4 separate regions of the Homo sapiens genome follow, and regions 1, 2 and 3 are each linked to region 4. Evidence: promoter capture Hi-C in human tissues and cell types (Jung and others, 2019). All regions are on one chromosome and are shown on one strand. Each heading gives the region's core, a stretch centred on a gene start or on the middle of the fragment in contact. The rest is flanking DNA. Distances are from core to core; before and after follow the strand shown.

Evidence for each region. The method cuts DNA at HindIII sites, captures the fragments that hold promoters and counts their contacts. A contact is called where the count stands out against the background at its distance.
Region 1: a fragment that was not itself captured here is called in contact with the fragment with the promoter of EIF4B in region 4 in 1 of the 25 tissues and cell types used here (aorta).
Region 2: a contact is called between a fragment that was not itself captured here and the fragment with the promoter of EIF4B in region 4, in 1 of the 25 tissues and cell types used here (aorta).
Region 3: a contact is called between a fragment that was not itself captured here and the fragment with the promoter of EIF4B in region 4, in 1 of the 25 tissues and cell types used here (dorsolateral prefrontal cortex).

What each region holds. Positions count from the first base shown.
Region 1 is chr12:51,974,912-51,980,008 of GRCh38, forward strand. ACVR1B (activin A receptor type 1B) reads left to right here. Exons shown (of 9, transcript NM_004302.5): 2 at 354-593; 3 at 1,416-1,664. Among named protein-coding and RNA genes, the nearest start is that of ACVR1B, 26 kb to the left of the region's middle. The HindIII fragment of the contact is 3,472 bases long and covers 883-4,354 here.
Region 2 is chr12:51,072,700-51,078,203 of GRCh38, forward strand. It overlaps CSRNP2 (cysteine and serine rich nuclear protein 2), which reads right to left. Exons shown (of 5, transcript NM_030809.3): 2 at 3,712-3,948; 3 at 1,124-1,383. The coding sequence starts at 3,862. Among named protein-coding and RNA genes, the nearest start is that of CSRNP2, 8.1 kb to the right of the region's middle. The HindIII fragment of the contact is 6,508 bases long and covers 1-5,504 here.
Region 3 is chr12:51,957,221-51,962,416 of GRCh38, forward strand. All of the region lies in intron 1 of ACVR1B (activin A receptor type 1B), which reads left to right. Among named protein-coding and RNA genes, the nearest start is that of ACVR1B, 8.1 kb to the left of the region's middle. The HindIII fragment of the contact is 3,738 bases long and covers 1,191-4,928 here.
Region 4 is chr12:53,004,256-53,009,577 of GRCh38, forward strand. EIF4B (eukaryotic translation initiation factor 4B) reads left to right here and starts at 2,201. Exons shown (of 15, transcript NM_001417.7): 1 at 2,201-2,241. The coding sequence starts at 2,229. RefSeq lists enhancers at 1,572-2,315, 2,316-3,059. The HindIII fragment of the contact is 23,564 bases long and covers 1-5,322 here.

The DNA of each region.
Region 1 (5,097 bases), core at 1,369-3,868, 1.0 Mb before region 4:
AGCTCCAGGAACCCTAGGTGGCTCTGCATGAAGTGGGGGGCAGCCCCACATTCTCCAAAAGGAAGATGCTTTCCTCTTGTCAGGCATCTCAATTTGAAGAAAAGGTAGTTCCTCTGTCTCTCACAGGCATAAAGTAGAGCACTTAGAGGATAATAGTGGAGCTTCAAAAGCCTTGTTTGTGAGCTAAATAAACAGGTGAAGTTGTGCTCAGTTAAGGATATCTTTTTGGCCCCATCTCTATAAAAACTGTTTTGGAACATCAAGTATGCTAAGGGATTATATTCTAAGTTTGGAAAAGGACCTGCAAAAGATCTCACCATTGATGTCAATGTCTGCTCCCCAATTTCCTGCAGCTCTGCTGTGTGCGTGCACCAGCTGCCTCCAGGCCAACTACACGTGTGAGACAGATGGGGCCTGCATGGTTTCCATTTTCAATCTGGATGGGATGGAGCACCATGTGCGCACCTGCATCCCCAAAGTGGAGCTGGTCCCTGCCGGGAAGCCCTTCTACTGCCTGAGCTCGGAGGACCTGCGCAACACCCACTGCTGCTACACTGACTACTGCAACAGGATCGACTTGAGGGTGCCCAGTGGTGAGTGCATGCCCTTGTTGGGCTAGTGGCTCAGCTTGGAGATAGGGTACCCCGTCATTTCATTTTTTTCTACTCTTGCCCACTCACTTGGTTTGACGATAAAGATGCCTTTTGGATGTTCCCGAAGGTGACAAAGGCTGGGGTTTCTCAGCAGTTGCTTTTGTAGATTAGAGGGTGAGGAAGCAGATTTTCAAGTTAGTCCCAGAGGTGCCCGCAGTGTTTAGAGTAGTGGCTTAGCAGCCATAGGCAGCGGTGAGGAGTGGAAGAACCAGGCAGGGATTCCCACGGGAGGATGTGGGACTGATCCAGAAAGAGATGGCCCCAGAGCCGAGCAAAGGTGACTCCTCAAGGGAGGATGATGGTTAGATGTGAGGAGGGACCAGAATAGGAAAAGGCCAGTGACCAAAGCCGAGAAACACCACATACCATCCTTTTGCAAGCCTACCATTCAGGAGGCATTACTGTGGAGCCCACAGGAAAAGGAGAGAAACTAAAGCAGAGCTTAGAGGAGCTGTGGGAAGTTAAAGGGCAGAAACAGGCATCTGTGTAGGGGCCTGAGGCGGGGATAGTACCACGAAATGCGTGAGGTGACAAAGTGGGTTGTGGGTTTGACTGTGGAAAGAGGTGCCTTAACTAAAGAAGTTGGGCATTTGAGAGCATCTAGGCAGCAAGACTAGCCCAGAAGATTAGAGAGATCAAGGGAGCCTGAACACATCGACAGGGAAAGGGGTCTTTTTCACTCTTCACTTTGAGGGGGGTGTTTTTACTCTTTCCCTTGTTTTTACTTCTCATTCTTTCCCTCTCCTCTCTCACTTGACTCAGGTCACCTCAAGGAGCCTGAGCACCCGTCCATGTGGGGCCCGGTGGAGCTGGTAGGCATCATCGCCGGCCCGGTGTTCCTCCTGTTCCTCATCATCATCATTGTTTTCCTTGTCATTAACTATCATCAGCGTGTCTATCACAACCGCCAGAGACTGGACATGGAAGATCCCTCATGTGAGATGTGTCTCTCCAAAGACAAGACGCTCCAGGATCTTGTCTACGATCTCTCCACCTCAGGGTCTGGCTCAGGTACCAAGTTCTTCAGGGCATCATGTCTGTGGTTGGCTTTCATCAGTTTCCCAGCAGGATAGAGTGCTTGTAGAGAAGGCTGGAGGCCCTGCATTTGTTTCTACCAGCATTGAGTCATTTGGTTTCCTAGTTCCCCTTCTTTTGGAGTCTGACGTGTAATAAGATAAGATAATGGGTTCACAGAAAATCTCTCATTCCGTGGGATTCCCAAGGTCTAGTACACAATTATCCACTACAGAAGTCCTGCCTCTCTAAGCTTTGCAACTGTACGTACATCTATTAAAATTCAGCTGGTCCCACCTGAGCAGTGGAGTGCTCAATTTCAGGGCCCCTTTTGAGAAACAGGAGTGTGCCAGATTCCTGTGAGGTGGTGACAGCTAATCATTGATCTCTGAGCAACCACAAGGGGAGTTTAAGGACATCCAGTAAAGCTTAGAGTTGGGATTTGGTGAATCATTGACTTGTACCAGTTGCCCAAGGGTTTTTGGTGGGGGTGAAAATAAAGGCAGTGTGGGCCTCCAGCATAGCATCAGCACTATTTCCTGTACTGCCTTTTGTTGACCAAGTCTTTCTCAGATGAGGGAAATGAACCAAACACTGGACCTTGGCATAAGACGAGAATTTAAGATAAAGGAGCTCGGGGTTGTTTAGGTCTCAGGGTATAGCTCAGCTAGCTATTAAATGTGAACATGAATGCAAAAGAATTTTTTTACTTACTTATTTATGTATTTATTTATTTAGAAACAGAGTCTTGCTCTGTTTCCCAGGCAGGAGTGCAGTGGCGCAATTTCCGCTCTCTGAAACCTCCACCTGCCTGGTTCAAGTGATTCTCCTGCCTCAGCCTCCTGAGTAGCTGGGATTACAGGAATGCGCCACCACAGCGACTAATTTTTGTATTTTTAGTAGAGACAAGGTTTCGCCACATCAGTCAGGCTGGTCTTGTGTTCTTGACCTCAAGTGATCCGCCTGCCTCGTAAAGAATTTTTTTAATGAAGATAAACCATTATTTTTGTGACAATGGTATTGCATTCCTTTTTTTTTTTTTTTTTTTTTGTTTTAAGATATGGTCTCGCTCTGTTGTTGCCCAGGCTGCAGTGCCATTGTGCAATCACAGCTGACTGCAGCCTTAACCTCCTGGGCTCAAGAGATCCTCCACCTTAGTCTCCTGAGTAGCTGAGATGTCAGGCATGTGCCACCAAGCCTGGCAATTTTTTTTTTTTTTTTTTTTTTTGTGGAAGGTTTCACTTTGTTGCCCAGGCTGGTCTCAAATTCTTGGCTTCAAGTCCATTCTTAAAAAAGAAAAAAAACATCCACAAAGATCACTGTTGCCATTCTAGCTAAAACGCAGAGGATCTTATTTGTGAGAACTTTGCGTGTTTTTATGTATGTTTCCTTGACGTGGGACAAGACTGTTGTTCTGTGGGGAAATTATGCCATCAGTCATGCCCAGACATTCTGCTTGACACGGGAGTACTTTGAGCTGTGACATCTCCTGAATTTCAGTGGCTTTGCTTTTATTAAGCTCTGCAGTAGAGAGCACCAAAATGATGGATATATTTAAAAGCTGCATATTTTTAGAAACAGCAAAAATCTAGGGCTTGTTCCTTGTTGAAAGAGGTAGGGCAGTGGTTAGAACCTCCTGGCTGACTGTGGGAATTGATTTGCTGCTAGAGGAGGGTAGATTGGGTTTTCCAAAGTCTTTTTAAGACCCAGACCAGCTGAAACAAGGGAAGGGCCATGGTAGTTGTTTAGTCGTCTGTGGTAAAATGGTTAATAACTATTTCCCTCTGAGTGGTTTAGTATATTCTTCATTCAGAATATGCAGAGCTTCCAAGGTGTTAGGTTTCTAATAATGTGGTTTTTAAAGTAGTAAGTCCATGCTGCTCATATGACTTTCAATTCATTTAAATAAGTATATACTGAATACCTTCTGGGTGATATGGTTTTAAACAGATTAGAAAGAGCCTGACCCGGCCAGGCGCGGTGGCTCACGCCTGTAATCCCAGCACTTTGGGAGGCTGAGGTGGGTGGATCATGAGGTCAGAGGAGATCCAGACCATCCTGGCTAACATGGTGAAACCCTGTCTCTACTAAAAATACAAAAAATTAGCCGGGCGTGGTGGCGGCGCCTGTAGTCCCAGGTACTCAAGAGGCTGAGGCAGGAGAATGGTGTGAACCTGGGAGGCGGAGCTTGCAGTGAGCCGAGATCACGCCACTGCACTCCAGCCTGGGCAACAGAGCGAGACTCCGTCTCAAAAAAAAAAAAAAAAAAAAGGCTGACCCAGGATTGGATCAGAGAGACAGGAATTGTTGGGAAGAGTCTCACAGAGGAGGGCACATTTAAAGGAGTCTTGAGGCCGGGCAGATCACATGAGGTCAAAAGTTTGAGACCAGCCTGACTAACATGGTGAAACCTCGTCTCTACTAAATACAAAAAATTAGCCGGGTGTAGTGGCACACGCCTATAATTCCAGCTACTTGGGAAGCTGAGGCAGGAGAATTGCTTGAACCCGGGAGGCAGAGGTTGCAGTGAGCCCAGATCATGCCATTGCACTCCAGCCTGGGCAGCAAGAGCAAAGCTCCGTCTCAAAAAAAAAAAAAAAAAAAAGGCCAGGCACGGTGGCTCACACCTGTAATCCCAGCACTTTGGGAGGCCGAGGCGGGTAGATCACCTCAGGTCAGGAGTTCGAGACCAGCCTGACCAACATGATGAAACCCCCATCTCTACTAAAAATACAAAAATTATCTGGGTGTGGTGGCGGGCACCTGTAATCCCAGCTACTCAGAAGGCTGAGGCAGGAGAATCACATGAACCTAGGAGGTGGAGGTTGCAGTGAGCCGAAATCATACCATTGCATTCCAGCCTGGGTGACAGAGCGAGACACCATCTCAAAAAAAAAAAAAAAAAGGAGTCTTGAAGAATGAGTTGGAATTTTTAAGAGAGGCGAGAGGGCAAAGAACATTCCAGGCCAATGAAAATACCTTGAGTAAAAAGACAAAGGCATGAAGGTCCACTGTATGTTTAAAGAACTTTTATGATGAGGAGACCAGCATGATGTGCTTGTGCTGGGGAAGCAGGGGGACGTCAGGCTGCCCCAGGTGTACAGGATCTTGAGGGCTGACCTTTATCTTCTAGGTAAGGGGCTTCTACTGAAAGTTTCCATGTGGGAAATGAATGTTCATTTTTTCCTTTGGAAGGAATTCTGGCAGTGGTGTGGAGGATGAATTCATTCACTACCAGCCTTCTGTTGGGAAGGGTGGGGTGAGGCGGGGTGTGTGTGGGTGCACAGGGCAAGAGCAGGCTGAGATGGGAGGCAAAAGACCTGTTGGAAGTCTTTTAGAGAAGGTCCAAAAGTAGGACAGGCGGACGGAGATGGAGAGGCGGGGGCTAATTTGAGAAACATTTTGGTGGTTCTATACTGTTGTCATTAAA
Region 2 (5,504 bases), core at 1,472-3,971, 1.9 Mb before region 4:
TAACTATTTGATAATGCTGTTTGTATCTACAAGATTATCACGTAAGGGTGATGGGGATTATAGAAACAGCAGGATCCTTTCAGAGACTGTGAAATATCCAAAACCTGTTCTGTGCATCCGGCCAAGGGACAATTATTTGACCAGAAATTGAAAATTGTGCTTCCTTGAGTTCCAGGGTGACAGACCTGAACGCCTTCACGTATTCATATTTTAAACTTAAAAATAAATTGGGGGCGGGGGTGTTGGGCATGGTGGCTCATGCCTGTAATCCCAGCACTTTGGGAGGTCAAGAGGGAAGGACCACTTGAGCCCAGGAATTGAGACCAACCTGGGCAACGTTGCAAGATCCCACTACTATTAAAAAAAATACTAGCCAGGCATGGTGGCATGAGCCTGTGGTTCCCAGATACTTGGGAGGCTGAGATTGGCAGATGGCTTGAGGCCAGGAGTTCAAGGCTGCAATGAGCTGTGATTGAGCCACTGCACTCCAGCCTGGGTGACAGAGAGAGACCCTGTCTCAAAAGAAAACATACATACATACATACATACATACATAAAATTGAGGGAGGCAGTGGGGGTTTGGGAGGGGGAAATTCTAGGGAAGCCATTTTGCTATATCTGGTAGACTCCCCTGCCAGATGCAAAGACGGGAGTCTTGGACTGAGATTTGATTTCAAATCTGAGATTTTTCATTAGAAAGAGTTGAAATCTCTATACCCCAAGGACAACAGTCAAATAAAAAAAAAAATCAGCTGGGTGCAGTGGCTCACACCTGTAGTCTCAGCACTTTGGGAGGCCGAGGCAGGTAGATCACTTGAGACCAGGAGTTCGAGACCAGCCTGGGCAACATGGCAAAACCCTGTCTCTACTAAAAATACAAAAACAAGACGGATGCACACCTGTAATCCCAACTACTCGGGAGGCTGAGGCACAAGAAATCGCTTGAACCTGGGGAGGCCGAGGTTGCAGTGAGCTAATATCATGCCAGTGCACTCCAGCCCGGGCGACAGAGCAAGACTCTGTCCCAGAAAAAAAAAAAAAAAAAAAATCAATCAACCAACCAACCAATGAACCTAAATGGTTTCCTACATGGACAGCAGTAGATCCCAGAACACTTAGGCACCTTCATTTTCTTGGCATGGAGTTTCTCTTCCTTCAGGTGCTCACGCAGAATCTCTCGATGGTTCACCTCCTGTTCCTGGGCAAACTCACAGAGTGTATAGCTCCGTACAGAGTTATGGCGCTGGGCCATGCCCAGAGAGCTACCACCCTGGCTGGGCACACTGGTAAAACCTTGGCGCCGGGCAAAGTAGTATACAGTCACCTGGTCAAAGCGTACATTCTTCCTCCGCAGCTGCTTCTGCCGCTTCAGGATGGATGTGGCTGAGAAGGGAGCACAGAGAGATGTTTTATTTATTTTTCTATTTATTTATTTAGAGATGGAGTCTCGCTCTGTTGCCCAGGCTGGAGTGCTGTGGCACTGTCTCGGCTCACTGCAGCCTCCACCTCCCGGGTTCAAGCAATTCTCCTGCCTCAGCCTCCTGAGAAGCTGGGATTACAGGCGTGTGTCACCACGCCCAGCTAATTTTTGTATTTTAGTAGAGATGGGGTTTCGCCATGTTGACTAGGCTGGTCTTGAACTCCTGACCTCAGGTGATCCGCCCGCCCCGGCCTCCCAAAGTGCTGGGATTACAGGTGTGAGCCACCATGCCTGGCCGAGAGATGCTTTATTAACTCAGGGATGACCTGTTTGGGGAGCTTGCTCTTTCTCATCCATCTAGGCTCTCAACTCTTCTTCTCTAAACGTGCTCTCTATATCTAGAGAACTGTCTAATATCTTCAAATCCTAAATGCTCTGTCAGAAGGGACCTTGAACTTCAGCTGGTTCATACAACTGCCTCCAGACTGACTATACCTAAACAGATGACCACAAAATCCATTTTTAGACATCAGCTGGGAAGAGGATCTCTAGTTAATCTTTTCTGGATATAAGAATCTACAGCTTTACTGTCCAATACAGCAGCTACTAGCCATGTGTGGCAATTTAAGCTAATTAAAATTAAATAAAATTTAAAATTCAGCTCAGGCCGGGCATGGTGGCTCATGCCTGTAATCCCAGCACTTTGGGAAGCCGAGGCAGGCAGATCATGAGGTCAAGAGATCAAGACCATCCTGGCCTACAGGATGAAACCCCATCTCTACTAAAAATACAAAAATTAGCTGGGCATGGTGGCACATGCCTGTAGTCCCAGCTACTCAGGAAGCTGAGGCAGGAGAATCACTTGAACCTGGGAGACGGAGGTTGCAGTGAGCCGAGATTGTGCCACTGCACTTCAGCCTGACGACAGAGCAAGACTCCATCTCAAAAACAAACAAACAAAAATTCAGCTCAATTATACTAACCATATTTCTTTATTTTCTTTTTTCCTTTGAGACAGGCTCTTGCTCTGTCACCCAGGCTAGAGTGCATGGCACAATCACGGCTCACTGCAGCCCCAACCTCCCAGGCCCAAGTAATCCTCCCACCTCAGCCTCCAGAGTAGCTGGGACTACAGTTGCACACCACCACACCCAGCTAATTTTTGTATTTTTTGTAGAGACGAGGTTTCGCCATGTTGCCCAGGCTGGTCTTGAACTCCTGAGTTCAAGTGATCCACCCATATCAGCCTCCCAAAGTGCTGAGATTACAGGCGTGAGCCACTGCGCCCAGCCACTAACCACATTTCAAGTGCTCAATAGCCACATATGGCAACTGGCTACTGTTGGACAATGCAGATACAGAACATTTCTATCATAACAGAAAATTCCATTGGATAGCATTGATCTGTAGCAGGGGACAGCAAACTGTCAAGAGCCAGACAGTAACTATTTTAGGCTCTACAGGCCATGAGGTCTCTGTTGCAATAATTCAACTCTGCCACTGTAGCATGAAAGCAATCATACACAATGGGTATAACTGTGTTCCAACAAAACAGGCATTGGGCCAGATTTGGCCCATGGGCAACCCCTCATATATAGTATCAGTTCTTTCCAAGAACTAATAGAGCCGTAAGAATTAAGAAAGCTTGGCCGGGCACAGTGGCTCACGCCTGTAATCCCTGCACTTTGGGAGGCCGAGGCGGGTGGGTCACCTGTGGTCAGGAGTTCAAGACCAACCTGGCCAACATGATGAAACCTTGTCTCTACTAAAAACACAAAAAATTAGGCGGGCGTGGTGGCAGGTGCCTATAATCCCAGCTACTGGGGAGGCCTGAAGCAGGAGAATCACTTGAACCCGGCAGGCAGAGGTTGCAGTGAGCTGAGATCTCGCCACTGCACTCCAGCCTGGGCAACAAGAGCAAAACGAGAAAAAAAAAGAATTAAGAAATCTGGATTTGCCCCAGTTGTCCAAGCAGCAAGCATTTATATCCTGCTACAGCTACAATTTCCTGGAACTCTCTGGGACTCTGGTGGGGGCAGGGTAGAGTCCTAGACTCCTTTTTCAATCTAATTTAACCCATTCTGGGAACCAGCAACCCACAAGACAAGTAAAATCAGCTAGAATAAATCAGACTTTAGTCTACGGTATGAGAGAAATGAGGTCCTCCAAAGAGCAAGGAAAGATGATGATTAAGGGCAAATCCCCAAGCCACACAGACGCTGTCTCGAGCTGCCATGGGTTCTGCTGCTTGGGGAATGTGGGTATAGGCAGGGACGGAGCAGCTTACTCACGTGTGAAGCTGGCAGTGGTAGGAGGATTGAGGCTGTCGCAGCTGTCAGCACTATCACTGCTGGAGATCTCATCATCTGAGTTGGAAACTGATGAGCCCACATCCACATCATCAAACTTCCTCTTGAGACCCGAGCCCGTGAATGCATCCATTGGTTTCAAAGGGGTTTCCTTGGGGAGCCCACCAAGTTGGCCCCAAAGCCCCTACTCACCACCAGCTAGCCAGGTACATTAGGATTCTGCCCAGGGAAAAAAAGGAATCAGCATTCCTGTCCCCAGACAGACTCCTCCCCAGTCTATACACACAGCTCTCTAAAGAAAGCACCTCACCTAGCACTGATGTCTGCTTTCTCAATATTACGTTCTTTCTCTACTAGCTCTGGCCAACATTCTCCTACTTTCGTTTCCCTTCAGCCCCTCTATTCTCAATCACTCTTAGAATAATGAGATGGGTAGCAGCAGCACCTTTCCCAGTGAAGGAAAGGCCTTTGCTTCCAATCCAGCTGGGGTCTAGGCTTCATTAGCCCAGGAATCACAGTAGCTGCTCTTCTGATCATATAGAAAAGCTCTCCAAGGCACCAGTGAGAAGAACTTGAAATCAAAAACACAATTATCACTGCTGCTTGTTTGGTTGGCAAAAAAAAAAAAAAAAGGAAAAAAAGAAAAGCAGAATTAGGCTTTGCCTAAACCAAGACTAGACCCAACTATTTATCTGTTTTAGAAACAGGGTCTCACTATGTTGCCCAGGCTGGTCTTGAACACCTGGGCTCGAGCAATCCTCCTGCCTCAGCCTCCAGAGTAGCTGGGACTACAAGGCACACACCACTGAACCCGGCTAGACCCACTTATTTTTCCTAGTGATAATACAGCCCGGCATTTCCCAAAGTGCGTGTCTTATGGTATTAATAGCTTTTACATAGAAATACGACTGCTGTGTCAAAAGGGTTTTAAAAATTGCCTATAGTGGAACTTCTTAGAGGCTTTTAATATACTAATAAGGATGGTGAAGGCTGAGAGAACACAGAATGCAGTGTTTCTACAAACGTGATTAAGGAACCCACTGTTTCCAAGGTATTTTAGAGTGCAAATAATGCTTGGAATACACTTTGGGAAATACTGCTCCAGGCACTCAATTTTGAAGGACATTAGCAGTCAGGAAAACCCTTTACCCAGATCTTCATAAGTGTAAAGTGTTTCACCAGGCTTCTATAAAGGTCAAATTTGGTACCAAAGAATGGACCCAAGATTAGAATCTGCATGGCTTCAAAACCCAGAATCTTTCCCAATCTCATACTGCTCCATAAAATAGGGCTCATCTGGTCTGTCACCATCCTCTGTGCAAGGACATTGTAGCTTTACAATCTTTGCCCTCTATAAAGAAATCAGCAAGGGGAAAACAAATAGCAAGAGAAGTAACTATTTATTCTGGTTATATCAATATGGCATGCAGTGTTGTTTTCAACACACTTTCATACAACCAAGGAGTCTGAGATAGTCCATTTCCCTAGGTACAAATCTTTTTCCTCCATCTTTGGATTTAAGTTCCAGAAGGACACGAATCTGCTCAGCAGAAATGCTGTCAAAGCGGGAGCCATGTGTGATGAGACACGAACCCTCCCTTGCCTCAGTAATGCCAGAATCTCCCCAGACTATGATCTCACTAGTTGCTAATTATGCAGCAGGAATAACAACACTGCCCAGAACGACAGGGCTGCATTACTGCAGAGCAGCTACCCAGAATATACTGTGGTGTCAAGAGATGCCTGCTACAGAGCTGCTTTTCTGGACTGTGTCT
Region 3 (5,196 bases), core at 1,810-4,309, 1.0 Mb before region 4:
GTGGATCATGAGGTCAGGAGTTCGAGACCAGCCTGACAAACATGCTGAAACCCCGTCTCTATTAAAAATACAAAAATTAGCCAGGTGTGGTGGTGTGCCTGTAATCCCAGCTACTCAGGAGGCTGAGGCAGGAGAATCACTTGAACCTGGGAGGCAGAGGTTGCAGTGAGCGGAGACTGCGCCACTGCACTCCAGCCTAGGCAACGGAGTGAGACTCCGTCAAAAAAAAAAAAAAAAAAAGCCAAAAACATCATAGCTCACTGCAGCCTGAAACTCCTGGGCTCAAGGAATCCTCCTTTGTCAGCCTCCCAAGTGGCTAGGATCACACGCACATGCCACCATACCCGGCTAATGTTTAAATTTTTTGTAGAGATGGGGTCTCACTTGTTGCCCAGGCTGGTCTCAAATTCCTGGGCTCAAATTATCCTCCTGCCTTGGCCTCCCAAAGGGCTGGGATTACAGGCCTGAGCTACCATGCCTGGCTTTGTTTCTGTTTAAAGACACCTTATTTAATATATATTGTTGGTTCATTAACATTGAACTTTACTGACAGCAGCACTATTAACTCATGCCTGAACTAAGCTTCTCTAACATGTATTTTCTCTGTGAGGCATATCACTATCTTCTTGCACTTAGGAACTCTAGACAGCACTTCAGCACTACTTGTGGGGGACCATTTTATACAGCAAAATCATCAATGAAAAGCATGACACTAAATATACTGCAGAAAGGATAACTTGTTTACAGTATGCCAGCTGAAACAAGAAGGCAGGGTGTTGCCTTGTTTGACCTCAGTTGGGAATGCATGTGGTGGGTGTTTCAGATGTTTCACTATTCTGTGCATGGCTGTCAGTGAGCAGGAAGGTACCATGAATGTTGATATTGGGGTTACAAATAAATTTGCATTAACCATATTTTGTTAGAACTGTATACAAAAGTGGTAGAAATAAAATTGTAGAATTTCACTAAACCAGAATTTTAATACATGTAGTTAGAAGTCCCATTTCCAGACTGCAAACTAAACATATGCATGTTGAGTACCTACCATGGTGATCTAGGGCAGTGGTCCCCAATCTTTTTGACATCAGGGACTGGTTTCGTGGAAGATAATTTTCCCACAGGGGAAGTAGGGGAGATATGATTTTGGGATGAAACTGTTCCACCTCAGATCATCAAGCACATCAGGCCGAGGTGGGTGGATCACCTGAGGTTGGGAGTTCAAGACCAGCCTGGCCAACATGGTGAAACCCCATCTCTACTGAAAATAAAAAATTAGCCGGGCATGGTAGTGGCAGCGCATGCCTGTAATCTCAGCTACTCAGGAGGCTGAGGCAGGAGAATAGCTTGAATCCGGGAGGCGGAGGTTGCAGTCAGCCGAGATCACGCCACTGCACTCCAGCCTGGGGAACAGAGTGAGACTCCTCAAAAAAAAAAAAAAAGAAAAGAAAGATCATCAGGCACATCAAGCATGTTAGATTCTCATAAGGTGCATGCAAGCTAGATGCCTCGCATGCGCGGTTCACCGTAGGTTTCCCACTCCTATGAGAATCTAATGCCGCCGCTGATGTGACAGGAGGCAGAGCTCAGGTACCCGCCTGCCACTTACCTCCTGCTGTGTGGCCTGGTTCCTAACAGGCCGTGGACCAGTACCGGTCTGTGGCCCCAGGGGTTGGGGACCCCTGATCCAAAGGGTCCCTTGACACATATTTATTGAGCACCTGTCATATACTAGGCATTGTTGCAGGTGTTAGGGATACAGTAGTAAACGAAAGGAGACAAAATTGCCTTCTCTCAGAAAGCTTACCTTCTGCCAGGTGAGGTGGACAATAAACAAAAGTATAAAATGTAAAGCAGTTGTGCCTACTACAGTCCACCTTCTGCTCCTCACTTCCCCAAGATTCCCCATGTTTGGTGTACACACACCTGCTTCAGGTATTCAGTCAAATGCTAGTCTTTGTAGATAGAATTAAGGTCTCAATCAGTTGACCTTTAGCCATCTAAAGGAGGTTATCATGGTGGGTCTGTCTTGATTGAACTAGCCCTTTCAAAGCAGAGAGATTTCTCAGCTGATTGCACAAGAGGAAATCAGATGTTCCAGCTGGCTTGGAAGCAAGCAGACGTCCATGTTGTGAACTGCCGATCCCAACAGCCACATGGCAAGGAACTGCAGGCAAACTCTAGGAGCTGAGAGTGGTTCCCAGCTGACAGCTAGGAGGAACATGGGGACCTCAGTCCTTCATCTGCAAGGCAGTGGATCTTGTCAACAACCAGTAAGCTTGGAGGAGGACCCAATCCTAGATGAGAAGGCAGCCCTAACTGGCACTGTCGGTGCTGTGCCTGGACTTCTGACCTGTAGGAACTGTGAAATAGTAACTAGGTGGTGGTTTAAAAAATGTATGCATTGGGTGGGGGTGAGTCAAATGGTGATGGTGAAAATAGGTAAAGCAAGAGAGGGGAATAATGAGAAATACCCCAAGATAGGCATGAGGGTACTTGAGACCTGGTGCCCAGCCATCCCATCACTCACATATAAAAATAAATCCTTTGACCACATGTGGCTTTCATCTGACTATAACTTTTTTCTAGATATTTGTGAGTGGAGGGGAGAGGGGATTGTGGATGCTTTGGAAATAAGTTTTTTAGGTGCTTGGGATGTTTGAGTTGAGGAATCTGGGAATTGAAGTATTTTCTGGGTTTTTTTTTTTTTTGTGGTAGAGGACTCACCTTGCCCCACATCCTTGTATATTGCTTTGGTATATGTTTGCATATTACCTTTTATACCTGTAGAAGATAAGATTGAATTGTAATCAGTCAGTGTTCATTTCTGATATCCAGGATGTGCCTAGCACCAAGCTGAATGCTGAGAGGGATCCTGAGGAAAGAGTCTGTCCTTGCCCTTTGGAAGTTTACACACAGAGACCGGCCACAGTGGCTCATGCCTGTAATCCCAACACTTTGGAGAATGAGGTACAGGGGATCGCTTCAGTCCAGGAGTTTGAGACTAGCCTGGGCAATATAGTGAGACCTCGTCTCTACAAAACATTTTTAAAAATTACAAGGGCTTGGTGGCGTGTGCCTGTGGTCCCAGCTACTTGGGAGGCTGAGGTGGGAGGATAGCTTGAGACCAGGAGATTGAGGCTACAGCAAACCATGATTGCACCACTGCACTCCACCCTGGGTGACAGAGTGAGATCCTGTCTCAAAAAAAAAAGTTTACACACAAATGGACTTTTTTTCTGCTTGTTGGAACTACCACAAACTATGAGGAGTTCAGGTGACAATTGTAATAAAAGCATCTGATTTGCTGAATGTTTACTATATACTAAAGTATTATGCTAAGCACCTGTGTTGTATCATTTACTCTATGTAGTTATTCTTTGAGGGGCTAGGGGCTCTTATTCCCATTTTACAGATGAGAAAACTAGGGCATAGAGAAGTTAAGCAGTGGGTCCAAAGTCTATCCAAGTCCAAAACATGTGCTCTAAATATTGTACTGTGCTATAAACTGTGAGTACTGTAAAAGTGACCTTCTAACCAGGCTCTCTGCCTTCAATCTCCCATTTGTTTTCCATCCTACGGCTAGATCTAACTTTGGAAATGCACCCTGTTTGTCTGACCTAGAGGTTGTGTGGCTTCTAGGATCAACTCTAGACCCCTTAGCTTAGCATTGCAATCAGTTTCATCTGGTCTTAGTCTCCCTGACTCTTCTTGCCTTTGGCTGGAACCTTGGCATTGTTCGAACTGTCAATTTACTCTGAACCCAGTGTAGCTAATATTTTTTCACAGCCCTTTGCTTTCCCTTTTCCTTTTCTCTGGAATGCTTCTCCCCACTTCTCTTCCTAGCCAAACCCAGCGTCCTCCAGTGTGGACCTTCGTCCTCTTGTGTTCTCCCGGTCAGTGATTCCATCCTCTCTGCTTTTCCCCTCAGCCTGTATTGGTAGTTGGAGTTGCACTGTTTATAGTTGTCTTCTCCCACTCTCCATGCCCAAAGAATTGGTGCGGGGAGCTGGCTTATTTGTTATATGGCTTCGGCCTGCACAGAGCCTTGCATGTTTCAAGTACTTAATAAGTTTGTTTAATTGAATTAATTCATTTCTTTTCCATCCTCTCAGTAAAATCCTAGGTAAATAATTCCAATTCTGTTTTGCTCTAATGTTATTATAATCTTGTATATATAGTATTTTAAACCTACTCAAAAAATGCCGCAAACATTTGTGAGTTACTTGGAACATCATAATCTCTCTTTCTACCTCACCTCTTTCATCTCTGTTTATCCTACCACCTACCCATTTTATTCCAGCCAAATGAACTTGATCTCTCAACCTCATTAGTTTTATTCTCAGTTTGGCTGATTTCTTTTTTCCTTTTCCATTGTCCCAGTTGCCTGAAACAATCATTCCTATCCCTCTTCTCACTCAAAACTGTGACATACACGGTCTCCTCTCCATTCGTCCATACTATAATAAATAGGTCAGGAAGAAAATACCAGGGATAAATATCCTTCCCTGCTCTATTGAGCCAGAAGTATGTTTATTCAGACTCAACAAAGAAAACAGTGGTTTTACATGTTCATCATAAACTGATATCAAAGGAGAAATGCAATTTCCTGATTGTCTAAATATGACAGCTGAGTCTGCACACATAGGTCCCAGGAACATTGGACACACTCCCTCATAATGAGGCCCACTCATTTCAGTCTTACCTTGACATTCTCTTGGGCAGCAGGTGGGCCCTTGCTAGATGTTCAGGTATTTACAGTCAGCCATAAATTAAGTTGCAATGACAGGTCTCCTTAGCATAAACATCAAACGTCTCTTCTGAGTGAGAACAAAGCTTTCATTCTCTAACTGAGACTTAAGGTTGAACTTGTTTAAACAGCTCTCTAGGGCTGGGTTTGTCTCCAAGTAGAATGTCAGAAAGGCAGTTTGTAGAATGGATATAGTGTGGAGCTGGCTTTCCAAACACCTTTCTCTTATGCAAACCCCATTCCAAGACCTTTTCCCAGATTGGAATTAAATACCAAGCTTATCAAGTGTCTTATTGTTAAATCTGTGTTTCTCCCCACCCCCCACCATACAAATAGCTTCCTTTATTAAGTCAGTTATATTTTTTTTCATAAGTACTTTTTACCAGTACATTTGTTGTTGTTGTTGTTGTTTTTCTGTATACCACCATTGGCACCTGTAAAATTTGACT
Region 4 (5,322 bases), core at 951-3,450:
CGAATTATATTTAGCATATAATAAGCAGTGAGGAGAGGTCAATTTAGTCGCCATCTTGGTTTTGATGGGATTTGGCTGGCTTCTTTACTGCATGCTGTTTTATGAGCAAGGTCTTTGTGACCTATAACTTGTGTTGACCTCCTGTCTCATCCTGTGATTAAGAATGCCTAACATTCTGGGAATGCAGCCCAGTAGGTCTCAGACTTATTTTACCCAGCCCTATTCAAGGAGTTGCTCCGGTTCAAACACCTCTGACAATTGCACTCTCCATTCAGTAGCCTGAGTAATCTCTTTTTTTCTAATTAACGCGTGACTTACATAAAGTACACAAATCTTAAGTATTCACAAATCTTAAGTATACGAATTCTAGATATACACCCATGTAACCACCACTCACATCAGGATACTAAGTAATCCTTTTTAAAATTTTATTTCAACTCATGACATTTCTCTGCCTTAAATCATTCCACACTTTCCCAATCCCCTCACATGATCAGCCTCACATGATCCAGCCCCTCTCTCTCAAGATTCATCCTGTACCACTCCTCCCTCCCCTGCCCTCACCATATTGCAGCAAACCCAACTGCGCATCCTGTCTTCTCCTAAACCTCTTCAGAAGACATTCCCAGGGATGGCAGCTTGTAATTTAGACCTCTGTCTGAATGTCACTTCCTCAGAGGTCTACTCTGACAGGCAATCTAAAGTTGCACCTAATAACTTATTACACCACCTTGTTTTAATTACTCACAGAATACTTGTTGTAATATTTTATTAGTTGCTTATTATCTGTCCTTCCCCCACTAGAATATAACCTCTTTTGGGACAGTTCTATTCCATGTTGTACCCGCAAGTGTCTGTGCCTGGCACACGGTGGGAAACAAAAATTTTCATTTAATGAATGAAATGGAACATCAGCTAGGGGAAGCATGAATAGCCCTAGTCTCAGAAATCCTAAAGGCCTAAGTTGGACTAAACCTAGTCAGCAAATTGGACCATTAAATGAGGTAAAAGCCCATGACAATTAAGTGTTCAGCATTTGTTACCTTCTTATTCCGTCTAAATATGCCTCATTAAAACCATTCTTACACAAGACGTTCGATTTGTTTTGCCTTTACAAAAAGTAATTTGAAAACAAACAGTGGTTGATGCCTGTAATCCCGGCACTGTGGGAGGCCTCGGAGGGAGGAATGCTTGAGTCCAGGAGTTCGAGACCAGCCCAGGCGACACAGGGAGACACACCGCCCCCCCCAAGCCCGCCACTCTGTCTCCACACAAAGACTTTTTTTTAATTAGCTGGTCCTGGAGGCACTCGCCTGTGGTCCCAGCTACTCAGGAGGCTGAGGTGGAAGAACTGCTTGAGCCCCGGAGGTTGAGGCTGCAGTGAGCCGAGATCGCGCCACTGCACTCCAGCTTGGGAGACAGGGCGAGACCCCGTCTCAAAAAATAAAAATAAATAAAAATAAAATCAGTGATTTCTGATGTGGCTTTTAAAAACTAGGCCGGGCGCGGTGGCTCACGCCTATAATCCAGCACTTTGGGAGGCCGAGGCGGGTGGATAGCCTGAGACCAGGAGTTCAAGACCAGCATGGCCAATATGGTGAAATATCCCGTTTCTACTAAAAATACAAAAAACTAGCAGCGAATGGTGGTGGGCGCCTGTAATCCCAGCTACTCCAGAGGCTGAGGCAGGTGAATCGCCTGAACCCGAGAGGCGGGGGTTGCAATGAGCCGAGGTCGCGCACGCCATTGCACTCCAGCCCGGACAACAGGAGCGAAACTCCGTCTCAAAAAAGTACATTAAACTCAGAATCTTCCCTTTCAGCACATCCATTTCGCCACACCCATCACCGGCTCCGTGCAGAGTAAGCAGAAGCAGCAGCGAAGCCCCGCCCTTCCCGCCACTCTTCCGGCAGGAAGTCTGTGCGTCAGGAGGCCGGCCAGGACTCAGCTCCAGCCCCGCGCTCGCGTGTAGCCCTACGTAAAGCGTGAGGGGTTTCGCGACAACCCAGGCCCCGCCCCTTTGGCCACATGTCGCGCATGTCTTCCCGTCGGACGGCGTGCCACCTCGCCGCGCAGCTTTACGAACCTAGAGCAGCGCCGCCCCGCCTCCTGTCTCCGTCCTCACCTCCCCGCCCCCTCCCAGCTTCGCGTCTCCTAGCTCGACGCGCCCGCTATAATCACGTGATTGCCTCATCCGGGTCTTTTGCGTTCTCTTTCCCTCTCCCAACATGGCGGCCTCAGGTGAGCGAGCAGCCGAGCGCGGCCAAGGACTGGGCTCTGAAACCCCCCTCCGAGCGTGATCCACTGATTTCCTGAAGTCGGGGAATTGCTGGCACTGGTTCCTTTCTGAATTGAGGGCTGCGGCAGGCTGGCGGCGTGGCCCTGTTAGGTTACTGCCTCTGGATGTTTGGGGGGGAGGGGAAGGACACCTTCCCCTCCCCCTCACACTCTTTTCACCCTTTCTGCGCGAGATTGGAATAGGCAGTAATGGTAGACTCTGGCTTGAATTGGGGAAGGAGGCGCAGAAAGGTGTGCGGGTGGTGCGAGGCCTTTTCGTAGACGTGAATCACCGTGCCCGCGTGAAGGCGTGGAGGAAGGAAGGAGGCGGTTGCTGCGCGGACGAGTGCACATTAGACTACGTCTCCAAGGCGCGAGGCTGTAGCGGACCGGAGTGGGGGGTAGGGGAGTAAGTGTGGTGGGGGGGAGCAGTTGGAACGCGAGCGCGAGTTGGTGGAGGGGCGGGGGAAGGCAGCGGTGCGCGTGCGCGGTAGGAGACACGAGGGTAGTAGAGACGGGCGCGCCTTCAATGCGTGCGCTAGAACCCAGATGGGAAGCTTTTTAACGCGCCTGTGTTGCGCACTTATGTCCTTTTAGGTTGTCTCTTCCCTTTCTAGAGTGTGGGCCCTGTGCCTGTATTCTTCTAAGGGTGTGTGTGTTAGCCTTGGAGGTTGGTGCTATTGGCGTTAGATGGGGGTGGGGAATCCAGTTAGGTGCGCCCACGTGTTGGAGAAGCACCGGTGTGCACCTAGATTTCCTTCTAGGCTTTTTTCTCATACTCAATTGGAGGCATTTTTTACTCAGCGCAGCTATATGCCAGGATCAGGTTTCGCTTCCGGCGCTTCCATGTTGGTTGAATTTGGATAGCTCCAATGGTAGATTTCAGCCTTTTTTTTTTTTTTTTTTTTTTTTTTTTAAGGTAACTGTGCAACTACCAGCAGGTACTTTTAAAATAGTGCTTACTAATGGCTGGAGTTGCTTACTTCTTTAGACAACCTTGGAGGGGAGTATCAGTGCCTTGCAAGTCTAATTACATTTCTAATGGGCTTATAAAAGCAGTGATGACCCAACATCTTGTAGCATTGATTTTAGTTTGAGGAATATAGTTTGTTTTCTCTGGCATGACCTTGCATTCTTCAAAACATTATTTGAACTTCTATCTCTGGGTGCTCATTTCTTACCTAGTAATTCATCGTCTCTATTACAAAGAAGCTAAGGGTTTTGGTTGGCTTTGGAAAATGTTGAGAAATTTGAGGTGCATTTGAACATCTTTCATTGGTGTAACGCTTGACAGTTGACCAAGCACTTTTGTGCATGTTGTCTCCTTCCATCCTGAGGTACTGCAGAGAGCTAGTGGTATTTCTCAGCTAAGGAATATTATTTAAGGCCACACTGCTCTCAGCTGGCAGAGCAAGGTCATAATCTTTGAGACTCCTTAGCAACTTAAAAGTATCAAGGTGTCATCATCAGTTTAGGACGCTGCCCGAAAGCATCTGAAGTTTACAAAAATGTTCATATTTTTTTCTCCAGTGGGCTAGTAAAAGTCCTAAATATATTTTAAACTAACCATTGCTTAAAGTACTTACTTGGTCTGGATTTGCCACCTTAACAGTTTAGTATCGTAATTTAGTGAAGAAAATCTGTGTTTTCTTAACTTTTGTGTAATTTTTAGAGGCGGAACATAGGACAGCAATTCATGTCCTTCGTTTTACCGAGTTGAGGGAAATCCAGACTGATAAAAGGGATTTACTCTGACGTCCCATTCTCTTGTTCTTCCATATTTACTCTACCCCCTTGAAAACCCTCATCTCCTTTAATTCACTTCAGTAAATCTTTTTAGCTGGTACTGGTATCTGAGCACAAGTCACATCTTTCAGTCTGTTCTTGAGGAATCTGGGGTTTATCGGATTGTTTCCCCGCTCCTCTTTCCAGTCACACTGGCTTTGTGAAGTAACCAGTATTCCCTGATGTGGGAAATGGATGTTATGTGTTCTGTGTGAAAATACATAAAACAACTTCATACGCCTCTTTTACTGTTAAATGAGACCAAAAAATTCTTTGCAGCAATACCAGTTTCCAGTGTGATCCATTATTGACCTTCAAGAACTAAGGTAGGTCTCAGAACTAACTATAGAATGAGGATAGTTTGAATTCCTAGAAACTTGATACATTGAGCCAGTACACTTAATTCCTTGCTTTGCTTCTTAAAAAGAATTCTTAAAGGCCGGGCGCGGTGGCTCACGCCTGTAATCCCAGCACTTCGGGAGGTCGAGGCGGGCGGATCACTAGGTCAGGAGTTGGAGACCAACCTGACCAACATGGTGAAACTCTGTCTCTACTAAAAATACAAAAATTAGCTGGGCGTGGTGTCGCGTGCTTGTAATCCCAGCTACTCCGGAGGCTGAGGCAGGAGAATCGCTTCAATCTGGGAGGGGGAGATTGCAGTGAACCGAGATTGTGCCATTGCACTCCAGCCTGGGCAAAAGAGCAAGACTCCATTTCAAAAAAAAATCTTAAAAATACGAAGTTTTTCATTTTTCTTAAATTTTCATTGTGACTACTTTAGTAGACTTGCCAGTAATAAGCCAGTTACCGCTTGAATCTCAGTTTCTTTATCTGGAAAGTGGTCATTATTTATCTGCTGTCCCCTTACCTAGAGGGAATCAAATGCGTTTGATACAGGTTAACATTTAAAATGCTTTCAAATTGGGCAGGGTGCAGTGGCTCATGCCTGTAATCCCAGCACTTTGGGAAGCTGAGGTGGGTGAAACACCTGAGAACAGGAGTTCGAGACCAGCCTGGCCAACATGGTGAAACCCAGTCTCCACTAAAAATACAAAAATTAGCGGGGTTTTGGGCTGGGCGTGGTGGCTCACGCCTGTAATCCAGGAGGCAGAGGTTGCAGTGAATTGAGATTGCACCACTGCCCTCCGGCCTGGGCGACAGAGCGAGACTCCGTCTCAAAAAAAAAAAACAAAAACAAACTTTAAAATTGGAAATAACATATGTAAGCTCATGCACAGGCCTTTCATTTCCATAATGCTT